3 separate regions of the Homo sapiens genome follow, and regions 2 and 3 are each linked to region 1. Evidence: promoter capture Hi-C in 16 types of primary human blood cells and fetal thymus (Javierre and others, 2016). All regions are on one chromosome and are shown on one strand. Each heading gives the region's core, a stretch centred on a gene start or on the middle of the fragment in contact. The rest is flanking DNA. Distances are from core to core; before and after follow the strand shown.

Region 1 (3,559 bases), core at 469-2,968:
GGTGACAGCCAGCATGCTACCCAGTGTGCCTGCCAAGTCCTGCAAGTGCTCCAGCAGCACCTCATGGCACCCTTGGGCCCAGAGGTTTTGGTTGGGTTGTCGGGGATCGAACAGGGGGTGGGCGTAGGAGTCTGAAAGACGGTTTTGCAGGCAAGGCCGGGGTGAGTGGGGGTTGCAACAGGAGAAAGGGACCCCATCAGTCAGGTATAGGCCTTCTACATTGCTCTGGATCCGGCTGCAAAGGGAGGGACAGAGGGGTTAGGATGTCTGGAGATAGAGGCCTGGGGGAGGGACTGAAGGGCACAGGTGTTCAGAAGGGAAAAAGAATAGTAAAACATTTACTGACTGCTGTACTATGTGCCAGCCAAGCATAATTCACATCTTCACAACAACTCTATCAGATAAGTACTATTATTTCCATTTTACAGGTGAAGGAATGGGCCCAGGGTGGTTTGGTAACATGCCCTGGGTTTCACAGCTAATAAATGGCAGAGCTGTAACCAGTCTCTCAGCCACTATGTTCTACTTATTGCCCCTCTGAGCGAGGTGGGGATTCAAGGCAGCAGGAGGGAGCCTGTCCAGGGAGGAGGAGGAGGAGGAAGGGAGACGCAAATCACTCACTCAGCCACATCCCGGTCACCGGGATCCAGGTAACGGCTGCTGACCCACTGGACCCCAAACCAATCCTTGTACCCGTGGCGCCCGCAGCAGTGGTACCTCAGTTGCAGCTCATCCACCAGCCTTTTGGCCTGACAGTGCCCAGGCACCTCTGTGTCCTTGTAGTGAGCCAAGGCAGTCACCAGGCCCTCCTCCAGCGCCTCATCCAGACTCCCAGGCAAAGCCAGGGCTAGCCCGAGGCCGACGACCAGGAGCCCCCCCCCACCAGCCGTGCCAGCCACCAGCAGCGGGCCCAGGACCCCTCGCCAGGGAGGGTATAGAGCTGCATTCAGACTTGCCCGGCTGGCTCCTACACCCACTAGTCCTGTGCCCAGAGCCACCGCGCCCGCTGCCAGGGCAGCCTGGGGCAGGACAGGGAACTGACAGGAGGGAGCCAGGAAGGTGCCAAGGTGCCTTAGCTGGACCAGGAGGTGCCCACTACAGAGGAGGATGACGCCACCAGCCAGCGCCAGCAGCCAGGAGAGGAGCCAGAGCCCTTGTGCCAGGCGGATGCGGGGCTGCAGGGGCAGCACCAGGGGCAACACCGGCGCCATCTCCCATCTCTGCCCAAGGGAATGCAGAGGTGTCAGGGATGGAAGCTGGCTGGGGCAGGATGCTGAGTCAGCCCGGCCCGGCTTGAGCTGGGCTAATGCCACCCTGACCCCAATACCCTGAGCATCCTCCCATCCTCAGCCCTAATAACCCGCCCCCCTGTCAGCCCCAATACAAGATGCCTTGGCCTTGCCCCTTACGAGAAACTCCGCCCCTAGGCCGAGGGCCCGTTTTGTGACCCCGCCCCTGCCCCTCGCGGAAGTGGTGGGGTTGGTCCGCTCAACCCTGAGGGGTTAGGGGCTGGGGGGCGGAGATATCGGGGCGGGCGCTCCCTTCCCCGTCCCCTGGGAATCCGGGGGCGGGGATCCGGGAAGGGCCTGGAGCCGGAGGCCGGGAGTAGGCCAGGGGGTCAGCCGGCTAGCCCCGCCCCCGTACTGAGCGGCGAGGCCCGGACAGGGAGGGGTTACCAAGCGGCCCGGCCCCCCCTCGGGCCCGCCCCCCCTCCCGCGCTTCCTGGCGGCTCCGCGTCCGGCGCCTGTTTGTGCTGCGGCGCTGTGGCACCGGACGGCCCTGCCACCCCACCCCCGGGAGCCGAGAGCGGCCCCGGGAGAGTCCGAGGGCCCGGGGGGGTCTGGAGACTGCGGCCCCGGGCCCACAGCGCCCCCTCCAGGCCCCTTCCCCGCGCCCGACAGCGCCCCCTCGGGGTGGTGGTACGGCGCCCTTCGCGCGCGCCCCGGGGTGCTTCCCCTTCCCCTCTCCCCGGCCGTGGCCCCCGCGGCTTAGACGCCTCCTCCGCCGCCGCCGCTCGGAGCAACCCGGGGGCCGGATGGACGGGGCCGCGGGGCCCGGTGAGTACGGGGCGGGGCGGGCGGCGTGCCCCTTCCCGGAGCGCCCGGCTCGTCGGGTTATGCCAGAGCTGGACGGCTGTCTGGAGGCGTCCCCGCGTGCTCCTCCGCCCCAGGGGCTCCGAGCATCCTCCACAGTTCCTCCGGTCGCCCTCCCTAGTTGCTTGGGTCTTGCTGTCACTTCGGGCTTCCCCAGCGTCATTCTACGCCCCACGTAACTCCGGGCCCCTCGATGTTTCCCTGCCCCCTGCGTTACTCCGGGCCTCTTCTCGTGGTATTTCAGGTCTTTTTCCTTCTGATCCCCACTGCCCCCTGAGACCTTCACTGTGACTCTGCTCACCACTCACACTCTCTCCTGTCACTCTGGATCTCTTTTCTTGTACTCTGGGTCCTCAGTATGACTCCATTCCCGCACCCCGTTCTCTCTCCTGGTGTTCCCCCGGCTCAGTTACTCAGCTTTCGCTGGAGACCTGAGCTTGCTGGGGGCGCGTGGGGAGGGCTGCGGTCCCTGCCCTCACCAGTGCGGCGCCTCTCTCTGTGGCTCCCACGTTCCTCGGCAGTACTCCATATTTCCCCCCCGGTACTCCATGGTACTCCCAGTCTTTGCGGAGGCTGAGACGGCAGCAGGAAGGGAGCTTTGCCAGGTTTCTCGCCTGCCCTGCCAGAAGGAGGCCCTTGATCCTTTACCACCGTCTCCTCCCCTCTGGACGAGCATTCAAGCCTGGGGCTGCCTGAAAGGGGCAGTCCTACCGGACACATGTAAAGTTGTGGGGAGACAGAATCCCCTCTACGCTTTCTTCAGGTGATGGGTACATTCTGAGTACCTCTTGCCCTTTTCCCAGGTGACGGCCCTGCTCGGGAGGCCCTCCAGTCTCTGAGCCAGCGGCTTCGGGTGCAGGAGCAGGAGATGGAACTGGTAAAGGCAGCCCTGGCAGAAGCCCTTCGCCTGCTGCGGCTGCAGGTGCCCCCTTCCTCCCTGCAGGGCTCTGGCACACCAGCTCCTCCGGGGGACAGGTATGCATGTCATCACACCCCATTTTTCCTCCTCCTTGGGGCCTCTGGGGCTTCAGGTTAATTCAACATCTCTCCAGCAGTCTTGCAGCCCCCCCAGGACTGCCACCCACGTGCACCCCTTCCTTGGTGAGCCGAGGCACCCAGACGGAGACAGAGGTGGAGCTCAAGTCATCCCCTGGACCCCCTGGCCTGAGCAATGGACCCCCAGCCCCTCAGGGGGCCAGCGAAGAGCCTAGCGGGACCCAATCTGAAGGAGGGGGCAGCAGCAGCAGTGGTGCTGGCTCCCCTGGCCCCCCGGGGATCCTCAGGCCCTTGCAGCCCCCACAGCGTGCTGACACGTAGGTGTCCTGTGGCCCTGTGGCGGAAGCTGGGAGGGGTGGTAGGATTGCAGAGTACAGTTGGAGGGAATGACCTTCACTATGCCCCCACCAGGCCGCGAAGAAATTCTTCCTCCTCCTCATCCCCCTCAGAGCGGCCTCGGCAGAAGCTCT
Region 2 (3,761 bases), core at 972-3,471, 180 kb before region 1:
CTGCTGTTCCCTGAGCATTCCTTTCATTCCTCAGAACCCTGCCCGGTTAGTATCACATCCCAGAATCTGCCCGGGACCACTGGGTTTCCCAGCAGATACAGGGCACACCTGCTGGCAGCACTGCTCTGAACACCACGTCCATTCCTTTTATTCCCCCAGAAGCAGCTTAGCCGAGTATTTCAAGGATAGCAGAAATGTGAAGAAGCTTAAAGACCCTAGTAAGTGTGTGATACGAACAAAATATGGGAAAAGGGCATGGGAAGGAATCAGTCAGAACTCAGGAGTGTGTGGCAGCACCACTGAGCTTTCTCCTCTACCCACAGCCTTGCGGTTCCGGCTGCTGAAGCACACGCGTCTCAACGTTGTTGCCTTCCTCAATGAGTTGCCCAAAACCCAGCACGACGTCAATTCCTTCGTGGTAGACATAAGCGCCCAGACAGTAAGCTCCTGCTTGCGCCTGACAGAAGCCTAGAATTGGGGTGGGGGTGGCATTTAATAGGCAAGGGGGGGCACTCAGGCTCTGAGAAGTGTACATTGTACCTGATGCTGCTTCTCTTTCAGAGCACATTGCTGTGTTTTTCTGTCAATGGAGTCTTCAAGGAAGGTAAGAATCTTTAGAGTCCCGAGTTTGTAGCGTGGTCCCACCCCCAGCTGGAATTTTCCTCAGCACTCTTAGCTTCCCAGCTACTTTCTCTCCCATTTTCTTTTTGAGCTCCTTCTCCCATTCTGCCCCCAAGCCGTCTTGGCTTGGCCTACCTCTCCACCTGTCCTGTCTGGATGTGGGAAAAGCCTGGGGATTAGGAGGACTTTGGAGTCAGGCAGTTCTTAGTTTCCATCCTAGTTTTGGTTGTGCGGGGCTGTGGACAAGTAACATTACCTCTAAGACAGATTCTTTATTTGTAAGATGGGGTTAGTAATAGCCGTCTCATAGTGGTGCTATAGGAAGTAAACTGAAGTGACTTACAAAGTGCTTGGCCTGGGGCCTGGCATACAGATGCTATCAGTGGATTAGTAGTTATTACTTTTTTTTGAGATGGAGTCACACTCTATCACCAGGCTGGAGTGCAGTGGCGCAATCTTGGCTCACTGCAACCTCCGTCTCCTGGGTTCAAGTGGTTCTCCTGCTTCAGCCTCCCGAGTAGCTGGGACTACAGGTGCGCACTACCACGCCCAGCTAATTTTTGTATTTTTAGTAGAGAAGGGGTTTCGCCATGTTGGACAGGATGGTCTCGATCTCTTGACCTCGTGATCTGCCCACCTCAGCCTCCCAAAGTGCTGGGATTATACGCATGAGACACTGTGCCCGGCCGTAGTTATTACTATTGTCCTTTCTGACCTGACCCTTCACCCCACCTGTGCTTCCCTTATACCCTTATATACTTAATCATTCCTCTCTGACTTGCTAGGATTCTTTATATCAAAGACCATGATTCAAGAAGCTGTTTGTAAACATAAAGCACTAGTGACCCTAAGGTGTTGTTGCTGTTCTTATTGCAGTGGACGGAAAGTCCCGGGATTCTTTGCGAGCCTTCACCCGGACATTCATTGCTGTTCCTGCTAGCAATTCAGGGTAAGTATTCTGCTTTTCGCATTGGATACCAGTCCTAATCCATGGCCAACAGTGTGGTAATTGGAGGGTAGAGTCAGTCTTTGGGGTGATTTCAGAAAGGCAACAGGAAATCAGAGAAAGCTCACATAGTAGTTAAGAGCCAGTTAATAGCTTGGCTCTGGAATTGTACCGTCTGGGTTTTCATCCTGGCTCCACCACTTCTAGCAAGTAGGCTGCTGCCTCATCTGAAAATTCATATAACAATATTCATTTCCTAAGTTTGTTGTGAGGATGAATTAAAAGAGCTAAAGTCCATGCGTTGGGAGAACCCTAGTGTGTTTAGTAGATAATCCTTCCAAACATTGATTCCATGGGAGGGGATAAATGATAAAAGGTAACAATAGCTAAGAGTGGGAGGGGGACCTTGTGGATATTGAAAGAATCAGAGAATAGGAATGATGTTGGGAGGATGATGTTATCTCTGTCTAGCTTTTTAAGTGCTCTTTGTCCTCAAGGCTATGTATTGTAAATGATGAGCTATTTGTGCGGAATGCCAGTTCTGAAGAGATCCAAAGAGCCTTCGCTATGCCTGCACCCACGCCTTCCTCCAGCCCGGTGCCCACCCTCTCTCCAGAGCAGCAGGAAATGTTGCAAGCATTCTCTACCCAGTCTGGCATGAACCTCGAGTGGTCCCAGAAGTGAGTGCGGGGCATGTGTAGGATGGGGATGCACTGAAGTAGGGCTAGTAGTAAATAATGAGGGCTCCTGACAGTTTTTTTGTTTTTTTTTTGGAGACAAGTTCTTGCGCTGTCATCCAGGCTGGAGTATAGTGGTGATCATAACTCACTGTAGCCTCTAATTCCTGGGCACAAGCTGTCCTCCCACCTCAGCCTCCAGAGTAGCTGGGCCTATAGGCATGTGCCACCTTATTTTATTTTATTATTTTTTTTTTTTGGAGGTGGAGTCTTGCTATGTTGCCCAGGCTGGAGTGCAGTGGTGCGATCTTGGCTCATTGTAACCTCTGCCTCCCGGGTTCAAGCAATTCTCCAATCTCAGCCTCCCGAGTAGCTGGGATTACAGGCACACACCACCATGCCTGGCTAATTTTTGTATTTTTTTTTTTTTTTTTTTTTTTTAGTAGAGACGGGCTTTCATCATGTTGGCCAGGCTGGTCTCGAACTCCTGACCTTGTGATCTGCCTACCTCGGCCTCCCAAAGTGCTGGGATTACAGGCATGAGGCACTGCACCCAGCCAAATTTTTATTTGCTTGTTTGTTTTGAGACAGGGTCTCACTCTGATGCCCAGGCTGGAGTACAGTGGTGTGATCACAGTTCACTGCAGCCTCAACTGCTAGGGCTCAGGTGATTCTCCCACCTCAGCCACCTGAGTAGCTGGGACTACAGGCATAGGCCACAGCACCTGGCTAATTTTTTTGTATTTCTTTGCAGAGATGGGGTTTCACCATGTTGCCCACCTAGGCCTCCCAAAGTGCTGCGGTTATAGGTGTGAGTTACTGTGCCTGGGCTCCTGAAATTTTAAAAGGCAAAACTTTTGGCTGCTTAAAAAAACCTAATAGTTGGCTGGGAGAGGTGGCTCACACCTGTAATCCCAGCACTTTGGGAGGCTGAGGCGGCCAGATCACGAGGTCAAGAGATCAAGACCATCCTGGACAACATGGTGAAATCTCGTCTCTACTAAAAATACAAAAATTAGCGGGGCTTGGCGTTCCACGCCTGTAGTCCCAACTACTCGGGAGGCTGAGGCAGGAGAATTGCTTGAACCTGGAAGGCGGAGGTTGCAGTGAGCCGAGATCACGCCACTGCACTCCAGCCTGGTGACAGAGCAAGACTCGGTCTCAAAAAAAAAAAAAAAGCAAACAGAAAAACACAAACCTGATAGTCTATAAAAAATTTGCCTGTGTATAAATTAACATAAAAAACTTTAAAGGTAAAATGGAAGTTCCTTTTCATATACTGTTCTGCAACTTAGTTTCTTTACTTACACCATGAACATCTTTCCCTACCACTGTAAAAACTATCTTGAGCTTCTTGACAGCTATTTAATATTCCTTATCTTTGAGAAGCCATTGGTAGAACATCTGGACTTTTACTAATGTCTCATTTGTATAAATAGTGCAAGGATGTATAAGAATGTACATATTTGTTGGCAAACTTGGGTGCTTTTATGGAGTGGACTTTCAGCTGGCATTTA
Region 3 (3,905 bases), core at 225-2,724, 190 kb after region 1:
AGAGCTTTGGAAGAGCACAGAGATTTCTGCTGGGATCCAAGGGCAGAGCTCGGCTGCTTTCCTTTTGTCCTGGCTCACCTTACCCTGACAGGGGCAGACCCCCCACCATAACAAGGAGACCAAAACCACGCAGGGGGCACAAAAGTGAGATGCTTGTGGTTTATTGAAGAGAGCAAGGCTGGTGGGCGTGGACTCAAAGCATGGCAGCGGCAGAGGCTGGAGCAGTTGGGGATCTTCAGCTTCTAAATGCTAATTACACAGTGAGCTTTGGGCTATTTTTTCCTAAAACAAATAGACAAAGAAACAGAAAAACCCAATACAACAGTGAATGAATTGCATAGTTAGGCAGAGATGACGAGCCACAGAAACTTCAACATTAACCGAGAGGTGCAGTCAACTCTAGGAGGAACTAAGGTAGTAAGGGCTTGGATTGTTTCTCAAAAGCCTCTTACAAAATAGTAAGGGGAGGCTGGGCGTGGTGGCTCACGCCTGTAATGCCAGCACTTTGGGAGGCTGAGGCGGGTGGATCACCTGAGGTCAGGAGTTCGAGACCAGCCTGGCAAACACGGTGAAACCCCATCTCTACAAAAATACAGAAATTAGCTCGGCATGATGGTGGGTGCCTGTAATCCCAGCTACTCAAGAGGCTGAGGCCGGAGAATCGCTTGAACCTGGGAGGTGGAGGTTGCAGTAAGCCAAGATCGTGCTATTGCACCCTAGTCTGGGCGACAGAGCGAGACTCTGTCTCAAAAAAAAAAAAAAAAAAAAAGGAAGAGGAGATGTCTAGAAAGATCACTGTGCTGCCTGCCTGGGGACAGTGGCACTGTGACTCTCCTCTCTGGATTAGAAACAGGTCTGAAAACTGGGGCAATCCTGCAGCCCCACTTGGGGAAGCCACTTCTAACCAGTGTGACGTGAAAGGTGCTGGTTACCATGAGCTTAATGATGCTTTCTCTGGGCTTTTGGGGGAGGGTGTCCACCAGCTTCTTCAGCTGAGCCCCTGCCTCCCTCATGTCTTGATCAGGGCTGAAAAGTTCCATGGCAGCCTCATAACTGGAGGGTGTGTCCATGAGGAGGGTTTCGATGACACGCTGAAAGCTCGGGCAGATCTCTGCAGAAGCTGCAACACAGAGGAGAGAAGGCACATGTCTCCAGGCCCCTTTCCAAGCTGGCTAGCCCTCTGGCTGGGTCTGCCCAGATGCAAACAGCCAGGCCCATCAGCGAGAGATAGCAGCCTTTTCATCGATGGACTAGAGTGTAAGATTTGTGGATTGCCCGAGTCTTCCTTAGACTTCTTGGGTTGAGGTGAGCAAGGTGCCGTTTTTCTTTCTGTTGGAGATCAAGGCAGAGTATTGATCATAGAAGCTGCTGGCCTGATTTTTTAATGCAGTGTGGAGGCTGGGAAGAGGCCACTGAGGGTTTTATTTCCCACCAGAAACTTGCCTCTCATCAGTGGTTAGAGATGCCCTGAGCCATGCTTCACTGGGGGCATGTGACAAATTCAGGCTCTGGCAGGAAAAAGCGATTGTAAGCCAGGCACGGTGGCTCACACCTGTAATCCCAGCACTTTGGGAGGCCGAGGCAGGCAGATCACGAGGTCAGGAGTTCGAGACCAGCCTGGCCAACATGGTGAAACCCCGTCTCTACTAAAAATACAAAAAATTAGCCGGGCGTGGTTCTGGGCACCCGTAATCCTAGCTACTCAGGAGGCTGAGGCAGGAGAATCACTTGAATCCAGGAAGCAGAAGTTGCAGTGAGCTGAGATCTCGTCACTGCACTCCAGCCTGGGCAACAGAGCGAGATTCTGTCTCAAAAAGCAAGCAAGCAAGCAAGCAAGCAAGCAAGCAAGAGAAAAGAAAAAGAAGAAAAGAAAAGAAAAGAAAAGAAGCCATTGAGATTGTACCAGCCAAACATGGGCCCCCGAACCTGGCCGGGAAGAGGTGTGCACATGTGCACAGCGGGCCCTGTGGCACACTCAGCTCATGGACAGAGCAGCCACTTGTACCACTTCATTCCCTTCAACACAGAGCTTCCAGACTCTGTTTTCTTCTCAGGTCCTTACAACCAGGAACATGGGGGAAAGTCACCATTTTCTACCCACTGCTTGCCTCCATCTTCCCAGTGAGTCTCAAATCCCTTTTCCTTGAATTCTCTGCCTTCTGAACAAATTTGCCTTCCCTCCTCTGACTCTAGGGCCTCACTAGAAATTGCCACTCCAAGTCAGACCCTCTCCAGAACTTAGGTCCTTGATGTGTAACTTACTGTGTCACCAGGCAAGTCACTCTGTGTTTCTGTAGCTCAGTTTTCTCATCTGTAAAATGGGAACAATATCCCTACTTCATTTTATTTTTTATTTTTTAAATTTTAATTTAATTTAAATTTTATTTTTATTTATTTATTTGTTTTCAGACGGAGTCTCGCTCTATTGCCCAGGCTGGAGTGCAGTGATGCCATCTCGGCTGACTGCAACCTCTGCCTCCCAGGTTCAAGTGATTCTCCTGCCTCGGCCTCCCAAGTAGCTGGGACTACAGGCATGCGCCACCATGCCTGGCTAATTTTTGTATTTTTAATAGAGACAAGGTTTCACCATGTTGGCCAGGTTGGTCCTGAACTCCTGACCTCAAGTGATCTACCCACCTCGGCCTCCCAAATTGCTGGGATTACAGGCGTGAGCCACCGTGCCTGGCCCAATATCCCTACTTCATAGGGTTGTTGTAAGAATAAAAAGAGAGGCCAGGCATGGTGGCTCACGCCTAATCCCAGCACTTTGGGAGGCCTAGGTGGGTGGATCACGAGGTCAAGAGATGGAGACCATCCTGGCCAACATGGTGAAACCCTGTCTCTACTAAAAATACAAAAATTAGCTGGGTGCAGTGGTGCGTGCCTGTAATCCCACCTACTTGGGAGGCTGAGGCAGGAGAATCGCTTGAACCCGGGAGGCGGAGGTTGCAGTGAGCTGAGATCGCGCCACTGCACTCCAGCCTGGCAACAGAGCGAGACTCTGTCTCAAAAAAAAAAAAAAAAAAGAATGAAAAGAGATATTATGTGAAAGGGTGACAGTGATTGGCACATTGTGTGAAGTAAGTGTTAAATATTGTATGCATGTGCACACAAATAGACAAATGCATCTCTGACCCACCCCTTAACATGTTGCAGTCCTATCTTGCTCAGCCACCCACCTCTGTACGCAGACAGCACTGAGATCTTCTAATTAATACACATTTCAGTCCAAAATGATGTCATTTTCTCTGAAAAACAAATAAACCTCTCTGCAAAATAGTTGTTCCTACTGCTTCTTGGTTTGGGTTTTCTAACTCCCCAGGGTCATAAAACTTATCTCCATGGGTGTTGTGAAGCTTTCCAAGTGAATTAATTGGAGTTTGTTTATTAAAAAATAACAACAGCATTTTCAGATGAGAATGGAAGAGGCTGACGCAGAGTGAAAAACAGAGTTAGATAACCCAGTTCCCCAAAGACGGGGGATCTTGGAGAGAGCTGTGATCCTTCTTTCCTTCCTTTCTCCCCCTCTCTCCGTCTCTCTTTCTGCCCCTCTTCCCCCCACAGTTCTTTTCCTTTTAGTGACAGCAGCAACTACTCAGAGACTCCTAATCCCTTTTGCAGAGGACGGAAATGTTTAGAAAACTTCACTCTGGGTTGGCAGTTCCCCAAAGGGAAGCTCTCTTTCTGGAATATTCCTCTGTGCCCAGAATGAGAGACCTTGTCTTGGGTTGGGTTTCTTTTGGGGTCACGAGTCCCTGCAGCTCCCCTTCCAGTGACTTCAGCTGCCAGCATGGAGTGGAGACCCCAGACTTGGAGGCTGCACCAAGGTCTCAGCATCTTGGAGTCTGTCCAGATCTGGGATGAGGGCCTCATTATTCCTATGCTGGATGTACTCATCTTTATGG

What was found. Contacts are between HindIII fragments. The CHiCAGO score rates a contact against its expected background, and 5 or more counts as called.
Region 2: a contact is called between a fragment that was not itself captured here and the fragment with the promoter of EML3 in region 1, in 1 of 17 cell types (naive B cells). The highest score is 5.3, in naive B cells.
Region 3: a contact is called between a fragment that was not itself captured here and the fragment with the promoter of EML3 in region 1, in 2 of 17 cell types (naive B cells and total B cells). The highest score is 6.7, in naive B cells.

The regions. Positions count from the first base shown.
Region 1 is chr11:62,610,934-62,614,492 of GRCh38, reverse strand. It overlaps EML3 (EMAP like 3), which reads left to right and starts at 1,718. Exons shown (of 22, transcript NM_153265.3): 1 at 1,718-2,057; 2 at 2,897-3,068; 3 at 3,149-3,406; 4 at 3,501-3,559. The coding sequence starts at 2,036. ROM1 (retinal outer segment membrane protein 1) reads right to left here and starts at 1,236. Exons shown (of 3, transcript NM_000327.4): 1 at 622-1,236; 2 at 1-235. The coding sequence starts at 1,211. RefSeq lists enhancers at 1,242-1,301, 2,075-2,634, 2,635-3,193 and a silencer at 1,352-2,231. The HindIII fragment of the contact is 22,044 bases long and covers 1-3,559 here.
Region 2 is chr11:62,792,744-62,796,504 of GRCh38, reverse strand. NXF1 (nuclear RNA export factor 1) reads left to right here. Exons shown (of 21, transcript NM_006362.5): 14 at 1-45; 15 at 160-218; 16 at 324-439; 17 at 562-604; 18 at 1,498-1,570; 19 at 2,065-2,247. MIR6514 (microRNA 6514) reads left to right here and starts at 3,734; the gene lies at 3,734-3,761. The HindIII fragment of the contact is 4,027 bases long and covers 208-3,761 here.
Region 3 is chr11:62,419,436-62,423,340 of GRCh38, reverse strand. It overlaps SCGB1A1 (secretoglobin family 1A member 1), which reads right to left. Exons shown (of 3, transcript NM_003357.5): 2 at 933-1,120; 3 at 146-282. The coding sequence ends at 250. All of the region lies in intron 1 of LOC102723765 (a long non-coding RNA gene), which reads left to right. Among named protein-coding and RNA genes, the nearest start is that of SCGB1A1, 2.4 kb to the right of the region's middle. The HindIII fragment of the contact is 3,769 bases long and covers 1-3,358 here.